Regions from separate parts of the Homo sapiens genome. Here all the other regions are linked to region 1. The links are contacts of gene promoters, found by promoter capture Hi-C in human tissues and cell types (Jung and others, 2019). All regions are on one chromosome and are shown on one strand. Each heading gives the region's core, a stretch centred on a gene start or on the middle of the fragment in contact. The rest is flanking DNA. Distances are from core to core; before and after follow the strand shown.

Evidence for each region. Contacts are between HindIII fragments. The study calls those that stand out against the background at their distance.
Region 2: the fragment with the promoter of MAP4K2 here is called in contact with the fragment with the promoter of NAALADL1 in region 1 in 2 of the 25 tissues and cell types used here (aorta and dorsolateral prefrontal cortex).
Region 3: a contact is called between a fragment that was not itself captured here and the fragment with the promoter of NAALADL1 in region 1, in 1 of the 25 tissues and cell types used here (adrenal gland).
Region 4: a fragment that was not itself captured here is called in contact with the fragment with the promoter of NAALADL1 in region 1 in 1 of the 25 tissues and cell types used here (heart left ventricle).
Region 5: a fragment that was not itself captured here is called in contact with the fragment with the promoter of NAALADL1 in region 1 in 5 of the 25 tissues and cell types used here (adrenal gland, bladder, dorsolateral prefrontal cortex and 2 more).

What each region holds. Positions count from the first base shown.
Region 1 is chr11:65,057,170-65,059,952 of GRCh38, forward strand. It overlaps NAALADL1 (N-acetylated alpha-linked acidic dipeptidase like 1), which reads right to left and starts at 1,384. Exons shown (of 18, transcript NM_005468.3): 1 at 1,168-1,384; 2 at 909-1,081; 3 at 706-827; 4 at 202-324. The coding sequence starts at 1,352. The HindIII fragment of the contact is 22,908 bases long and covers 1-2,783 here.
Region 2 is chr11:64,801,964-64,804,463 of GRCh38, forward strand. It overlaps MAP4K2 (mitogen-activated protein kinase kinase kinase kinase 2), which reads right to left and starts at 1,251. Exons shown (of 32, transcript NM_004579.5): 1 at 1,091-1,251; 2 at 922-979; 3 at 600-690; 4 at 456-520; 5 at 103-158. The coding sequence starts at 1,186. MEN1 (menin 1) reads right to left here. Exons shown (of 10, transcript NM_001370259.2): 10 at 1,553-2,500. The coding sequence ends at 2,371. RefSeq lists silencers at 881-1,060, 1,211-1,390. The HindIII fragment of the contact is 25,459 bases long and covers 1-2,500 here.
Region 3 is chr11:64,864,219-64,867,001 of GRCh38, forward strand. The region is part of intron 2 of EHD1 (EH domain containing 1); the gene reads right to left. Among named protein-coding and RNA genes, the nearest start is that of MIR10392, 13 kb to the right of the region's middle. RefSeq lists an enhancer at 1,604-1,903. The HindIII fragment of the contact is 8,078 bases long and covers 1-2,783 here.
Region 4 is chr11:65,253,074-65,255,856 of GRCh38, forward strand. No RefSeq gene overlaps it. Among named protein-coding and RNA genes, the nearest start is that of POLA2, 7.5 kb to the right of the region's middle. The HindIII fragment of the contact is 3,849 bases long and covers 1-2,783 here.
Region 5 is chr11:64,892,768-64,895,550 of GRCh38, forward strand. ATG2A (autophagy related 2A) reads right to left here. Exons shown (of 41, transcript NM_015104.3): 40 at 2,523-2,675; 41 at 1,779-2,442. The coding sequence ends at 2,206. MIR194-2HG (MIR194-2 host gene) reads right to left here and starts at 682. Exons shown (of 3, transcript NR_133640.1): 1 at 644-682; 2 at 1-59. The HindIII fragment of the contact is 4,598 bases long and covers 1-2,783 here.

The DNA of each region.
Region 1 (2,783 bases), core at 134-2,633:
AGAGAGGGTCAGGGAGGCATCCGAGGCCACACAGCCCATTGGTGGGACAACCCGAAAACACCTTGCCTTTCCTGCCCCACCCTGGGGCTTGGTTCCCCACTCAACACTGCCTCTTCTCCTTCCCCTTCCCCTCACTTCCTCCAGTCCACTGCCCAGCCCCTTCCTCACCGAGGCCTCCTGCACTGGGGGACTGCCACTCACCTTGGCCCCACGCCCTACACCCCCATATCGAGTCAGGGCAATGGTGCCTTCAAGTTTGATGCCCTGAGTCTGTAGCTCCTTAAAGTCTTCTTCCGCGCCCCGGTTGGCATAGACGAGGAGGCCCTAGTCCCAAGAGGGGGTGATCCTTAGAGCTGGGCCCAGCGAAGTGTGGGTGGGGAAGGGGGGTGGAAGTTTGCATGGCAGGAGGGAGAATTTAGATTCTGTTCCCCCACCTCACCCAGAGCTTGTAAGCTCCCCAAGAACAGTCACCCCTCATTTCCTCCATGTCTGGGTGCCCTGTAACAGACCTGGCCTTGAGCAGAGCCACTAGTGTTTGTTGAATGACTGATGGAGGAAAGGAGCAGCGATGGAGTGTCCCGGTGAGTAAATTCCGGAGGGCGCGCTGTGCCCCAGTTGAGGCACGTTCCCTGGGTCAGGGTGGGGAGAACCCTGGGTGGAACCAAGGGAGCTGGGCCAGAGCAGTAGGGGGGGTTCTGGGCCCACCTGTGGGGTTCCAGAAGGAGCATAGGCAGCATAGGGTTGTACCACATCTGGCCCCCCTTGCTCCCCGGTCACGTTCTCCTCAGTCCGGTGGCAGGAGTGGATGATGCCCCCAGTGGGGCCCACTGTTGGAGGGGTGGCAGTATCATGGCTGGGCCCAGCAGCTCCCCACCCCCGGGCATTCCCAAGACTGGGCAGGACCTCACCGATGTCCACGACGTTGGGCTGCTCCTGGCTAGGGAAGGACAGCAGCACTTCGTACGTGGAGGCCTCGGCCGAGTCCAGGCCTGACTCTGGGTCCTTCCAGCGCTGCAGCAGCAGCTGCACCAGGTCCTCATCCCGAGGGCTGGAGGCCAGGTGTGGCTCCCTGGAGAGTTCTCTGCAGGGTGGGCAGAGGGAGGGGCAGGGCCAGCATCAGGGAGGGGGCCTCTGGCAAACGGAGGAGCAGATGGCCCCACTTCTCACCTGAGGTTCTCCCGGATCCTGTGGGCATCCAGCTGCCCCATGACGGTCTCCAGGATCTCCAGGTCCAGGTCCTGGGGGGCCAGTGAGTTGGCTTTTTTGGGGATGGCAAAGTGGCCGAGGATGATCCCCAGCCCCAAGAGGGCAGCAGCCCCCAGCCCCAGCCCCAACACCTTCGTCCACTGCATCCTGCGGACTCTTGGCCAGCTGGGGTAGGACTGGTCTATAGGTTATTCCCTATAGAGGGGGTGTTGTGCCTGGTTAAACATTACCCCATGGGTGGCACTGCCCTTTGACCCCCAGCTGGCAGGGAGAGTGAGGGAACATCCCGCAGTGAGAGCCAGGAGCCATCCACATCCACCACATCCTGCACCATTTGCCTGGAATGGCTCTCCAAGGGCAGCAAGGTCACCCAGGGACACTGAAGCCGAGAGGGAAGGGGCTCATCCAGGGTGTCCCAGGAAAACAGAGGCCAAGCCAGGGCTGGAACTCAGAGCTCCTGTGTTCACAGCAGGGCCGTGCCCACTGCCCACCCTCACTGCCTCTGCCTCCCTCCAAGGCAGCCGATCTACAGCATACCCAGCCCTACCTGCCTGAGCAGATTTTGAGTTGAGATCCCCCTTCTTGCTGGACGTAAGCTGTGTGACCTTGGGCAATCCACTCAGCTTCTCTACACCTGTTTTCTTTTTTTTTTTTCTAGACTGTGTCTTCCACTGACACCCAGGCTGGAGTCCAGTGGTGTGATCTCGGCTCACTGCAACCTCCACCTCCCGGGCTCAAGTGATTCTCCTGCATCGGCCTCCCGAGTAGCTGGGATTACGGGTGTGCACCACCATGTCCAGCTAATTTTTGTATTTTTAGTAGAGATGGGGTTTCACCATGTTGGCCAGGCTGGTCTCAAACTCCTGATCTCAGGTGATCACCCGCCTCAGCCTCCCAAAGTGCTGGGATGACAGGAGTGAGCCACCGTGCCGGCTATGGTGTCATTTTCATTAAACAATATGGCATCTGTAGAAATAGCTAGTGCAGTGTCTGACATGTAGTGGGAGCTCATCAATTTTAACTACTCATCCCTCATCTGACTCTGGAAAATGTAAGGCCTAGAGCTAAAGGAAGAAGGAGGACCCAGAAGAACTCTCTGTGTCTATCCTGAAGGGAGCCCAGCGATACGAGGAATGGGAGTCCTGGGAAGGGAGGCTGTCCCAGAGGAGGCAGCAGGGGAAGCCCATGCCTCCCTGGCGAGGTGACTTCCTCTTCTATCCCCTGGCTCTGCCTGGACTCCGTCATCCACCCTCCTATTTATCCATCCACCCATCCCTCCATTCACTTATTCATTCCTTCCTTTATACATGCAAGCACTGTTCATTCTGTGCTATACTAGAGCCATGCAAGGCTGTGGGGAAGCAAAATCCAGCAGGCGAGGCAGACAGGCTTTAGGTTCAGCCATGTGGTAAGTGCCCTGTAGAGGGAGGATCACCATGCTCCCAGTGAAAGAGTGAGGAGTTCTGACTAGGAGGGAACATCTGAGGGGGTCCTCCAAGGCTGAAAAGGTGTTCCAGCATTTGCAAGGGCTGAGAGGGAAGTGAGACCCCAAGTATGCCATACACATACTGAGCCTC
Region 2 (2,500 bases), core at 1-2,500, 260 kb before region 1:
GCCCCACCCGAGGCACTCCACCCGCCTCCCTGCTGGTCATCTGGGCTCCTGGCCCACAGCTTCTGGAGACCAGAGGTGTGGGCACCTCACAGGCCCAGCTACCTTCAGTGCCTCTCGGCAGACGTAGGCAATCTGCCGCTCCTCCAGGGGCCCAGTGGCTGAAAGGAAAAGGGAGAGGCTGGCTTGGGGGCCCGGGGGTCATGCCCACCCTCCCAGGCTACCGTGTGTGGGAAAAGCAGCAGGCACTGTTAAATGAAAGCGGTGTTGGCCACGTCCCCTCCCAGTTTAGTCTAGGATACTGAACCCAGAGATGGACAGTATTTCTCTCAAGGTCACACAGCCAGGCAGGAGTGGAGAGGAGCCCAAGTCCAGGGCCCAGAGTCCCCTCTGGTACCCCAGTGGGGTAGGGGTGGGGGAAGGCTGGGGCCTGCTGGGGCCTGGAGCCCTGGCCTCACCATGGTAAATCTCCTGCAGGGAGCCCCCTCCGCAGAACTCCATGCAGATCCACAAGCGGTCATTCCTAGGGACAAAGAGCTGGGGTGGGCACAAAGCAGGTCACATGGGGGCTGCCTGGGGCCAGGAGGATAAGGCAGCCTCACCTGAGGTAGCTGCCAATGTAGGCCACCACATTGGGGTGGCGGCACTCACGCAGGATGGTGATTTCCTGCTGGAGGGAGCTGATGTCGTCCCCTGGGAAGCACAAAGCATCATGGGGAAGGCGCGCTGGGGTTGCCCTGACTCAGTGCCCCCATCTGCAAAATGGGCACAGAGTGCCTCCCTCCGGGCCAGGCAGGTGCAGGTGACAGCACCTCCCGGGGCACGCCTCTCAGGGGTCTCGGAAACGTCAACCCTCCGCCCGCACCCCGCGCCCGCGGGCGCTCTGCCCTTCCTCTGGCGCAGAGGCCCGACCCGGGCCCTCACCTGGGTCTAGCTTGACTATCTTCACGGCGGCCAGTTCGGACGTGACCGTGTCGCGGGCCTGCAGGGGCGGAGGGTGAAGCGGGATGGGGGGCGGGGCCGGGGGCTAGATCCTGCCGCGGGGTGCGGGGCTGGCACCCTCCTCCCGGCTCTCCCGCCCGTCCCGTCGCACCTTGTAGACGTCGCCATAGGTCCCGGCCCCCACGCGCTGCAGCAGCTCGAAGCGGTCCCGCGGGTCCTGCAGCGACACATCCCGCAGCAGCGCCATGGCCCGGCGCCGGGCGGGCCGGCAGGCGGGCGGGCGCGAGCTGCGGAGCCGGCGCGGGGCGGCGCGGGGCGGGGCGGGCGCCCGTGGCTCTGAGGCCGCGGGGGCGGGGCTGAGGCCCGGGGGCGGGGCCGCGCCGGGGATGCCCCACCGCCAGTCCGGGAGGAGGCGCCCGCGGGACGGGCCCTCGGCGGCGCGGGGAAGCCCCAAGGCCGGGGCGGAGCCTACGTCCTTCCGCCGCCACTGTCGCTCGCGCTCCACAGGTAGGGAGCGCAAAGTCCCGGGAGCCAGAAGACAGAGGGAAGAGGGGGCGCTCCACTCCCCGCCCCATCCCCAATTTCCCAGATAAACATGGACTTGCGCTTTATATTTTTTTTAACAAAATGTATTCATCTTTCTTGGAACTGAAAAATAAATCTATGTACAAAACAGGAAGAGATCAGGCTCTTGTCACCCACTCCTAACCCTCTGCAGATTTCCTCCGGGATGCTCCGAGATGGGCTGGACCTCTGGGAGGTTCCCAGAGGGTCGGAAGGGAGGTCCTGCTCTGATCCGGGGCCAGTTTCGTCAGGAAGAGGGCGGGGCTCAGGATGCTCATAGGCTGGGGGCGGAGTTTTGTGTCCCAGACTCGGGATACGAAGGAGAGGAAACTAGGATTTCCAAATTCTGGAGCAGGACTGAAGTTATTTGGGGCAGGGAGCTTGGATTCGCAAGATATGGAATTCTGAAGTGCGGAAATATACTCCTAGGGGCTGAGTGGTCCTAGGCTCCCGGGCTGGAGGTGGGACCTGTGCTCCTTGGGTTAAGGGTGAAACCTCAGCTCCTACAAGCTGGGAGGAGCCCTGAGTAACGTTGGTCTGGCTCTAGGTGAGCGGTTCCGAGGAGGAGCTTGGGTTTCTAGGGGCTGGGCCTTTAAAGACTGGTAATTAGGACCCAGCGTGAGGTTTCCATTGGCCGGCTGGGATTCTGGGAGAAGAGACCTATATTCTAACGACTGGGGCAGAGCCCTGGGTTCTGAGCTGGAGAAAATCGTGGGTTTGATACAGACTGTACTCGGGACCGGGAACCTAGGGTTTGGGTAGAGGTGAGGCCTGTCCCCTTTGGGCTGGGGGCAGAACATGGGCTCAGAGTTGGGGGACTAAGGGCGGAGCCTGGGTCCCCACAAGCGGTCCGAAGTCCCCAGTAGTTCAGAGGCCTTTGCGCTGCCGCTTGAGGAAAGACAGAGTGTAGTCACTAGGGGTGGACACTTTCTGCTTCTTCATCTGCACTTGCGACTGTGCCGTGAGTTGCAGCTTGATGGCGCTCGAGTTGATCTTG
Region 3 (2,783 bases), core at 168-2,667, 190 kb before region 1:
TCCAGCCTGGACGGGGAGGCCCGATCAGCCTTCCAGAGGCTCAGGTGGATGGTCGGAGACAGCAGAGCTGCCAGGTTCCCTGTGCCCAGAAGGTGTGGAAGGGCATCGTGCCAGGGCACCTCATGCCACCACAGGCTCCTGCTTCCAAAGTACAAGGCCCCGGGCACCCGGACTCCCTGCAGCTGGCTCTGAGCTCCACAGGAGAGGATGCCCAAAGAGTGAAGTCTCGGCAGAAAACCAGAAAGAGAGGCCAAGGGCAACATGAGGGAAACAGGGGCAGGGAGAGGCCGCCTCTGCCCCCGGGGGATGAGGCCACACTAGCTAAGCCTGCAGCGCCTGCCTGGGGCCCGCAGCCCACAGCCTTTTATGGCCAGCTCTGGGAACGCAGGTCAGTACTGAAAAGGCGATGACTCAAGGACTGAGGTTCCTCGCTCAGCAAAAAGGGGGCCCAGCTTCTCCCCTTGTCAAATCATTTGTCTTCAGCCCGCCACAAGCTGAAACTAGAATTCACACAGCTGGGGAGGCTGTGATGCCAAAACCGAGTTCTTGGGAATGAGGGCGCCCTGATGGGCTGTGCTCAGCCCATGTTAGCTTTGGCCTGGGAGTCAGGACGGCGCCTGGGGAGCTGAGGTCACCCTCCCAAACTCCACCCAGCAAGGCCCCACTCCCCCCTCCCCCTGGATGGCTGGGGGGCCCTGGGGAAAGAGAGAAAAAGGAGGGGAAGGAAGAAAGAAGAGTGAGCACTCCAAAACTCCCTGCCCCAGGTCCAGAAGCCCTGCCCCACCTGCTCTGAAACCCAGTTACTGGCCGTCATCTCAAGCTGGAGTCAACAGAGGTAAGCCCATTTCTTTGCAGGTGACTAAAATTTCCTGTTTATTACAGAAAATGTGCTTTTGCTGTGAGGGAAACACAGTGACTGGCCAGCCACACCCACAGGTGACAAAAAGGGCCACAGCACTCAGGCCTGTGCCATGCAGGCAGTGACCACGTAACTGCACGCCCCACCAGGCCCACCGGCGCTCCTTAGCCCACCAGGCCCTCGCTGCCCTCAAAGGCACCTCACTCAGCCTAAAAGACGCCGGGTTTCAAGAGGTGCCAAAGGCTACACTGCACAGCGGTAACACTGAGCCACTCTCTAGATCAGAGCTGGACGGCCGGTATCAAGTACAGAACAGGGCTTGCCAGCACCCCCGGCACTGCCCAAGGCAACAAGACTTCAGGCTTTGGCACCCACCAAGGTAGGGGCCTTGCTGTTAGCTTGACTAGCTCAGGCCCCAGTGGGAGTGACAGAACTGATGCCGAGCAAAAGGACACAGAAAACATGGCCCAAGCGGGTGGGCTGGAGAGAAAGGCCCACCTGCAGAGGGAGTGGTTTTAGTGAGTAAAAGCCAGAGCCCCCTCTGATAAGGGATCATAAGCCACCAGGAAGCTCTAGCTCAGAAAATCCTGGGACCTAGAAGACATGATGCTAAGTGATGAAATAAGTCTGTGACCTTTTCCAAAGATGACACACACGCGGCCAACGAGCATATGAAAAAACTCTCAGCATCACTAATCATTAGAGAAATGCAAATCAAACCACAATGAGACAACATCTCATAACAGTCAGAATGGCTATTATTAAAAAGTCTAAAAATAACAGATGCTGGTGAGGTTGCAGAGAAAAGGGAACATTTATACGCTGCTGGTGGGAATGTAAACCAGTTCAGCCACTGTGAAAAGCAGCTTGGCAATTTCTCAAAGAATTTAAAACAGAACTACCATTCGACTCAGCAATCACATTACTGGGCATAAACCCTAAGGAAGAGAAATCATTCTGCCATAAGGACACATGCACACATACGTCCATTGCAGCACTATTCACGATAGCAAAGATGGAATCCACCTAAATACCCATCAACAGTAGACTGGATAAAGAAAACATGGTACATATACCACAGAGAATACTATCCACCCATAAAAAGGAACAAGATCATGACCTTTGCAGCAACATGGATGGAGCTGGAGACCATTATCCTCAGCAAACTAACACTAGAATAGAAAACCAAATACCGCATGTTCCACACCAAATACCGCATGTTCTCACTCATCCATGGGTGTGAAACATTGAGTACACATGGCAACAAAGAAGAGAACAACAGACACCAGGGCCTACTTGAGGGTGGAATGGGTGAGGACAGAAAAACTGCCTAGCAGGCTGGGCATGGTGGCTCACGCTTGTAATCGCAGCACTCTGGGAGGCTGAGGCAGGAGGACTGCTTGAGTCCAGCCTGGGTAACATAGCGAGACCCCCCTCTACAAAAATTTAAAAAAATTTGGGTGTGGTGGCATGCATCTGTATTCCCAGCTACTTGGGACACTGAGGTAAGAGGATTGTTTGGGCCCGGGAGGTGGAGGCTACAGTGAGCTGTGATTGTGCCACTGCACTCCCAGCCTGGGTGACAGAGTGAGACCCTGTCTCCAAAAAAAAAAAAAGAAAAGAAAAACTACCTATCAGATACTACGCTTATTACCTGGGTGATGAAATAATCTATACACCAAACCCCACCACACTCCATTTACCTGTATAACAAACCTGTACATGTACTCCTGAACCTAAAAGTTTTTTTAAAACATCCTGCCACAAAAGGACAGATACGGCACTGTAGGATTCCACTGACAGGAGATACCAGGAGTAATCAAGTGCACAGAAAAGGAATATAGAATGGGGAGTGCAGGGGCTGCGGGGTGCAGGGAGCCACGAGGGGAGCTGGTGTTGAACAGGAAGAGTGTCCATTTGGGAA
Region 4 (2,783 bases), core at 87-2,586, 200 kb after region 1:
CAACAATATTGATGTTGGCAAGGATGTGGAGAAAAGGAAACTCTTTTTTTTTTTTTTTGAGACAGAGTCTCCCTCTGTTGCCCAGGCTGGAGTGCAGTGGCGCGACCTTGGCTCACTGCAATCTCTGCCTCCTGGGTTCAAGTGATTCTCCTGCCTCAGCCTCCTGAGTAGCTGGGATTACAGGCGCCTGCCACCATGCCGGCTAATTTTTGTATTTTTAGTAGAGATGGGGTTTCACCATGTTGGCCAGGCTGGTCTTGAACTCCTGACCTCAAGTGATCCACCAGCCTCAGATTCCCAAAGTGCAGGGATTACAGGTGTAAGCCATCATGCCAGGCCAAAAAGGGAACTCTTATACACTATTGGGGGATTGTAAATTAGTACAACTTCTATGGAAGACAATACAAGGGTTTCTCAAAGAACTAAAAATAGAACTAACATGTGCTCCAGCAATCTCACTATTGAGTGTCTACCCAAAGCAATCATTACATCGAAAAGGTACCTGCACCAGTACATTTACCACAGCACTATTCACAAGAGCAAAGACATGGAATCAACCTAAGTGTCCATCAACAGATGATTGGATAAAGAAAATGTGGTACATATACACCATGGAATACTATTGGGTCATAAAAAAGAATGAAATCATGTATTTTGCAGTCACATGGATGGAACTGGAGGACATACATGGATGGAACTGGAGGACATTCATGGATGGAACTGGAGGACATTAAGTAAAACAAATCAGACACAGAAAGACAAATACTGCACATTCTCAATTCTAAGAGGGAGCTAAATAATATGTACACATGGACGTAGAGTGTGGAATGGTAGAGAACTGAGACTCAGAAGGGTGAGTGGGGGTGAATGGGGGTAGGTGATCAGAGATTACTGAATGGATACAATGTGTGTTATTTAGGTGACAGATACCCTAAAAGTCCTGACTTCACCACTACACAATCTATGCATGTAACAAAATTACACTCACACCCCATAAAGTTATACACATGAAATAAATAAATAGTGTAAAAGACAGTCCTGGAGAAACTCAGACCAGACCCTGAGGACCATGCTACACTGCCACCACCTGGTGGCAATATACCTACAGTGTAGGGCGGTGCCTCCCAAAATTCCCAAATTCCCGACTTCTGGAGAGCATCAAAAATAAATAAAACATGTACTCACACTACTGAACTGTACACTTACAAACGGTTAAGATCATACATGTTATGTTATGTGTTTTTACCACAATTAAAACACAGATGACTAGGCGTGGTGGCTCACGCCTGTAATCCCAGCACTTTAGGAGGCCGAGGCAGGTGAATCACCAGAGATCAGAGGTTCGAAACCAGCCTGGCCAACATGGTGAAACCCCGTTTCTACTAAAAATACAAAATTAGCCAGGCGTGGTGGTGCATGCCTGTAATCCCAGCTACTTGTGAGGTTGAGGCAGGAGAATTGCTTGAACCTCAGAGGCGGAGGTTGCAGTGAGCCAAGATTGCGCCACTGTACTCCAGCCTGGGCAATAAGAGTGAAACTCTGTCCCAAACAAACAAACAGACTAACTAACAAAAAACAAACCACATAAATAACAGTGTAAAATAAATGAAATAAAAGTATAAAATAGGCTGGGCATGGTGGCTCACGCCTGTAATCCCAGCACTTTGAGGGGCTGAGGCAGGTGGATCACTTGAGCCCAGGAGCTCAAGACCAGCCTGGGCAACATGATGAAACCCCGTCTCTACAACAACAACAACAACAACAAAACACTGTAAAACCCCATCTCTACGAAACAAACAAACAAACCAAAACCAAAAATTAACCGGGTCATGGCGGTGTGTACCTGAAGTCCCAGCTACTTGGGAGGCTATGGTGGGACGATCACGTAAGCCCAGGGAGGTCAAGGCTGCAGTGAGTCATGATCAAGCCACTGCACTCCAGCTTGGGCAACAGAACAAGACTCTGCCTGAAACAAAACAAAACCAAACCTAAAATTCCTCTTTGGCATCCTTGGTGTGTGTGTGTAACTATATGCATAATATATATTATTATCTATATATGTTATATATTCTATAAAATCTTATATATGTCACATACTATACATACTTCTGCTATCTGACTCAATTCTCTCAAAGCCACCCTTCATCCTTTTGCAGTTTCCAAACATATAAATTATCAGAGTTAAAATCATGTTCCATCTGATTTCCACTCTGTGCTCACTCCAGGTGGGCTACAATACATGTGACCATCCACTCTGTGTGTGCTAACAACAGTGTAAAACTGGACCCTGGCATTAACCTCTTCTATCATTTCACACTAATGTGAGATCCATGAGGTCCCCATTTGCAATCGGAGTCCAGGAAATCAGCTACAGGAGCTGGTTGTAAATTTCACTCCATTGTTGCCTGTGTGCTCCCCACAACAGTTTCTGTAAACCTACCCAGATGCAATGTAAAGGAACCAACTGGTCCACAGTTACTTTCTGTTACTTACAGCTTCGTGACCTCCAGCGAATCACCTCTCTTTTATTGTTGACAATAAAAGACAGTGAATCACCTGTCTTTTATTGTTGAGTTGTAAGAATTCTTGTTTTTGTTTTTGTTTTTTTGAGACGGAGTCTTGCTCTGTCACCGAGGCTGGAGTGCAGTGGCGCCATCTTGCCTCACTGCAAGCTCCGCCTCCTGGGTTCACGCCATTCTCCTGCCTCAGCCTCCCGAGTAGCTGGGACTACAGGCACCCGCCACCACACCCGGCTAATTTTTTGTATTTTTAGTAGAGACAGG
Region 5 (2,783 bases), core at 116-2,615, 160 kb before region 1:
CGGTGACAGGTGCCAGTCCTGCAGAGACCCAGCAGGCATTTTGGGAGACTCCAAAGCTTCTGGAGAGAAAGGGGAGCTTTTAGAGTAGACTTGGGCCCTGCCCCCTTTGCCAGTGGTGCATACAGGCCTAGAGAGACAGAGGGGGCCGCCCAAGGTCACAGAGCAGGGCCCCAGGGCCTGTGCTGCCCCAACAACCTTCCCGAAGTGGCGTCCCCCCTTCTCAGGATGCAGTCAGGGTGGGATGGGGGATCCCTGGGCTGGAATCCTTCTGCCTGGGGGGACAGACCTGCGAAGGAAGACACCGTAGCTGGTGGCTGGCCCTCCACTCAGCCTGGCGGCCCTTCCCACAGAGGCCTGGGCGAGACCAGCCTCCTGCAGCGTGGTGTCCAAGTGCCCTGGCCTGGCAGAGACAGCGCCCGATCAGGAATCCTGGCTCCACAGCTCTGAGCGCTGATGCTAAGGCCCCCTTATCCCACAGTGGAAACCAAGGCACAGAGAGGAAGGGGCTCGTCCCGGCCACCCCATGGCTGTCCAGGTCCCTTTCTTCCTCAGGATTGGCCACCCTTCAGAGAGGTGCCTGGGTTCAGGAGCCTCCTAGGACAGGGAGGGCGGCAGGGGTCCTACCACTCAGGAAGCCTCTTACCTGAGTGCCGGGCTGGCCTTCGGGGCACAAGGAGGAAGTGGGGACACCCTGGGCCCAGGGCCTTTTGAGCCGTTGACCCAGCCCCTGGTGGTGGTTAATGATTATCCCACCACCGTCAATACTGATCACAAGTGCGGTTCGAAGGGCAGGAAGCCCTGGACTGTGCCCGGGCAGGGTGGGGCGGGTCCAGGAAGCATCAGGCTGGGCCCCATCTGCCTCTCCGGGTGGCATCAGCACCGAGTCTCCACAGCCCTGTCTCCTCCAGGGCCTCGCCCTCCTGGTCTCTTACCAGCCTGCTGCCCCAGCTGTCCGTGGGCAGCCAGGACCCCAGGGTCCCTCGGGACAAAGCTTCTGCTCTGTTCCCAGTACCCAGATCTCCCCCACTCAGAAGGGGCCACAGAGCAGGGCTGGGGGACCTTTGCTAACCCCAGAGGCCTGCGGAACCTAGCAAGGTGAGGGTTCCCTGATTCCCAACCCGAGCCTTGGTTTCCCCATGGACCCACCCACCTCTGTGCAGCGCCACTGGGAAGCAGGGCAGGGAGGAGCGCGATGGGAGCAGCTCACAAGAAACAAGATGTGTGGGGGGCAATGGGCGCTCCCTGGTCCTGTGTAAAGCTTTGTGCAGTGAGGGTTGGGATTCCGGCTGCAGCGCTGCTCCAGCACCCCTCCCCCCTCCAAGTGCTGGAGCTGGGACCCCAGATCAGAGTGGAAACCAAGGGGCCAAGGCCTGGGCCACCCCAAAAGCCCCCACTAGGGATGGTGAGAGCAACATCTAGAATGCCTCAGGCTCAGCCTTCCCCGAGTGGCCTCAAGTGACAACCAGGCAGGGTCAGCTGGGCTCCAAGGACCATCCCTCCCTCCCCTGGCAGCCCCACGTAGCTCCTGCCACATCAGGAGTGGGGCTGGAGTGGCAGCCTCCTGGGAGGGGCAAGGCAGAGCCCAGAGCCAGGGGAAGGCGTGCAGGGCTGGGTGCCTCTGGGTCCCCCTGTGCCCTGATCTGCTGGGCAAGGCCAGGAGGCATGGCGACCCCTGGTGGTGACATGGGAGGTGCTGGGTGCAGAGGTGGGATCTGGGGCGGGGCCAAGGTCAAGGCTGAGGCCAGGGTTCACAGGGACAGAGGATCTGAGAGGGGGGCTGGCGGTGGGCAGTTTATTCCACTTCATGCAGACACTGACCCACGCACTCACGGAGCTTAAAAATAATACATCGAACCACACGGATATCATCCCCTCCTCCCCCCAGACACAGAAAGACACTTGGCTGAGTGGGATGGGGTCCGAGGGTCCAAAAGCCTCCGTCCTGGGAGAAGGCAGCAGTGTGGGCCCAGGTCGGGGGAGGGGCAGTGTCCTTTCTCCCCGGAGGAAAAGTGCAGAGCCAGGGCTAAGGCCCCAAGGCAGGGAGGCCCCCCTCTCACAGCAGATTGGCAACGGGCAGGCTGGGAAGGCGTCCTTCACAGTGGCCATCCCCTGAAGGGCCAGGCCGGGCCGGGCCCGTGGGCTGCAGCTCTTGGGAGGCTCAGGAGCATGGTGGGCAGCACCCTCTGGGTGCCGGGCACCCCAGGCTCAGTCTTGGGCACTGTCCGAGCGCCACTTGAGGGCGTGGTCCTTGTGGGCGTCGGGGACAATCTGGTTGCGCATGCCCCCGAGCAGGCTGGACGTGGCCTCCGTGGCCAGGATGAGCGGCTTCACCACAGTCGGGGGCAGCTGGCGGATCACGCCCCCCACGGCGCCCGTCAGCCCCTTCTGCTCATGGCCCCGCGATGCCACGTCACAGATGGTCTGAGCTGTATCCAAGATGCCCTGTGGAAGCCAGAGGTCAGGGCGGGGTCTGTGTGAGGAGATGGGCATGGGGGACTGGGGCAGGGCGGGGGCCTGGTCACCTCTCGCACTGTGTCGTAGGCCTTGGCCACACCCTCCCGCAGGTCGGCAGGCTGCTGGCCCCTGCGCAGCCTCCGCGCAGAGCGCTTATCCTGCAGGGAGCGGGAGACGGGGGCTGCCGGGGACAGGATGTCATACACGGTCTCAGCTGTGGCCTGGGGGACATGGGAGCACTGGATGAGGACAGCTGGCTGGGGCACACGTCAGCCCCAGGCCCCCAGGACAGTCTGAGACCCCACCAGCCCTCAGCCTCCCTGCCTGTC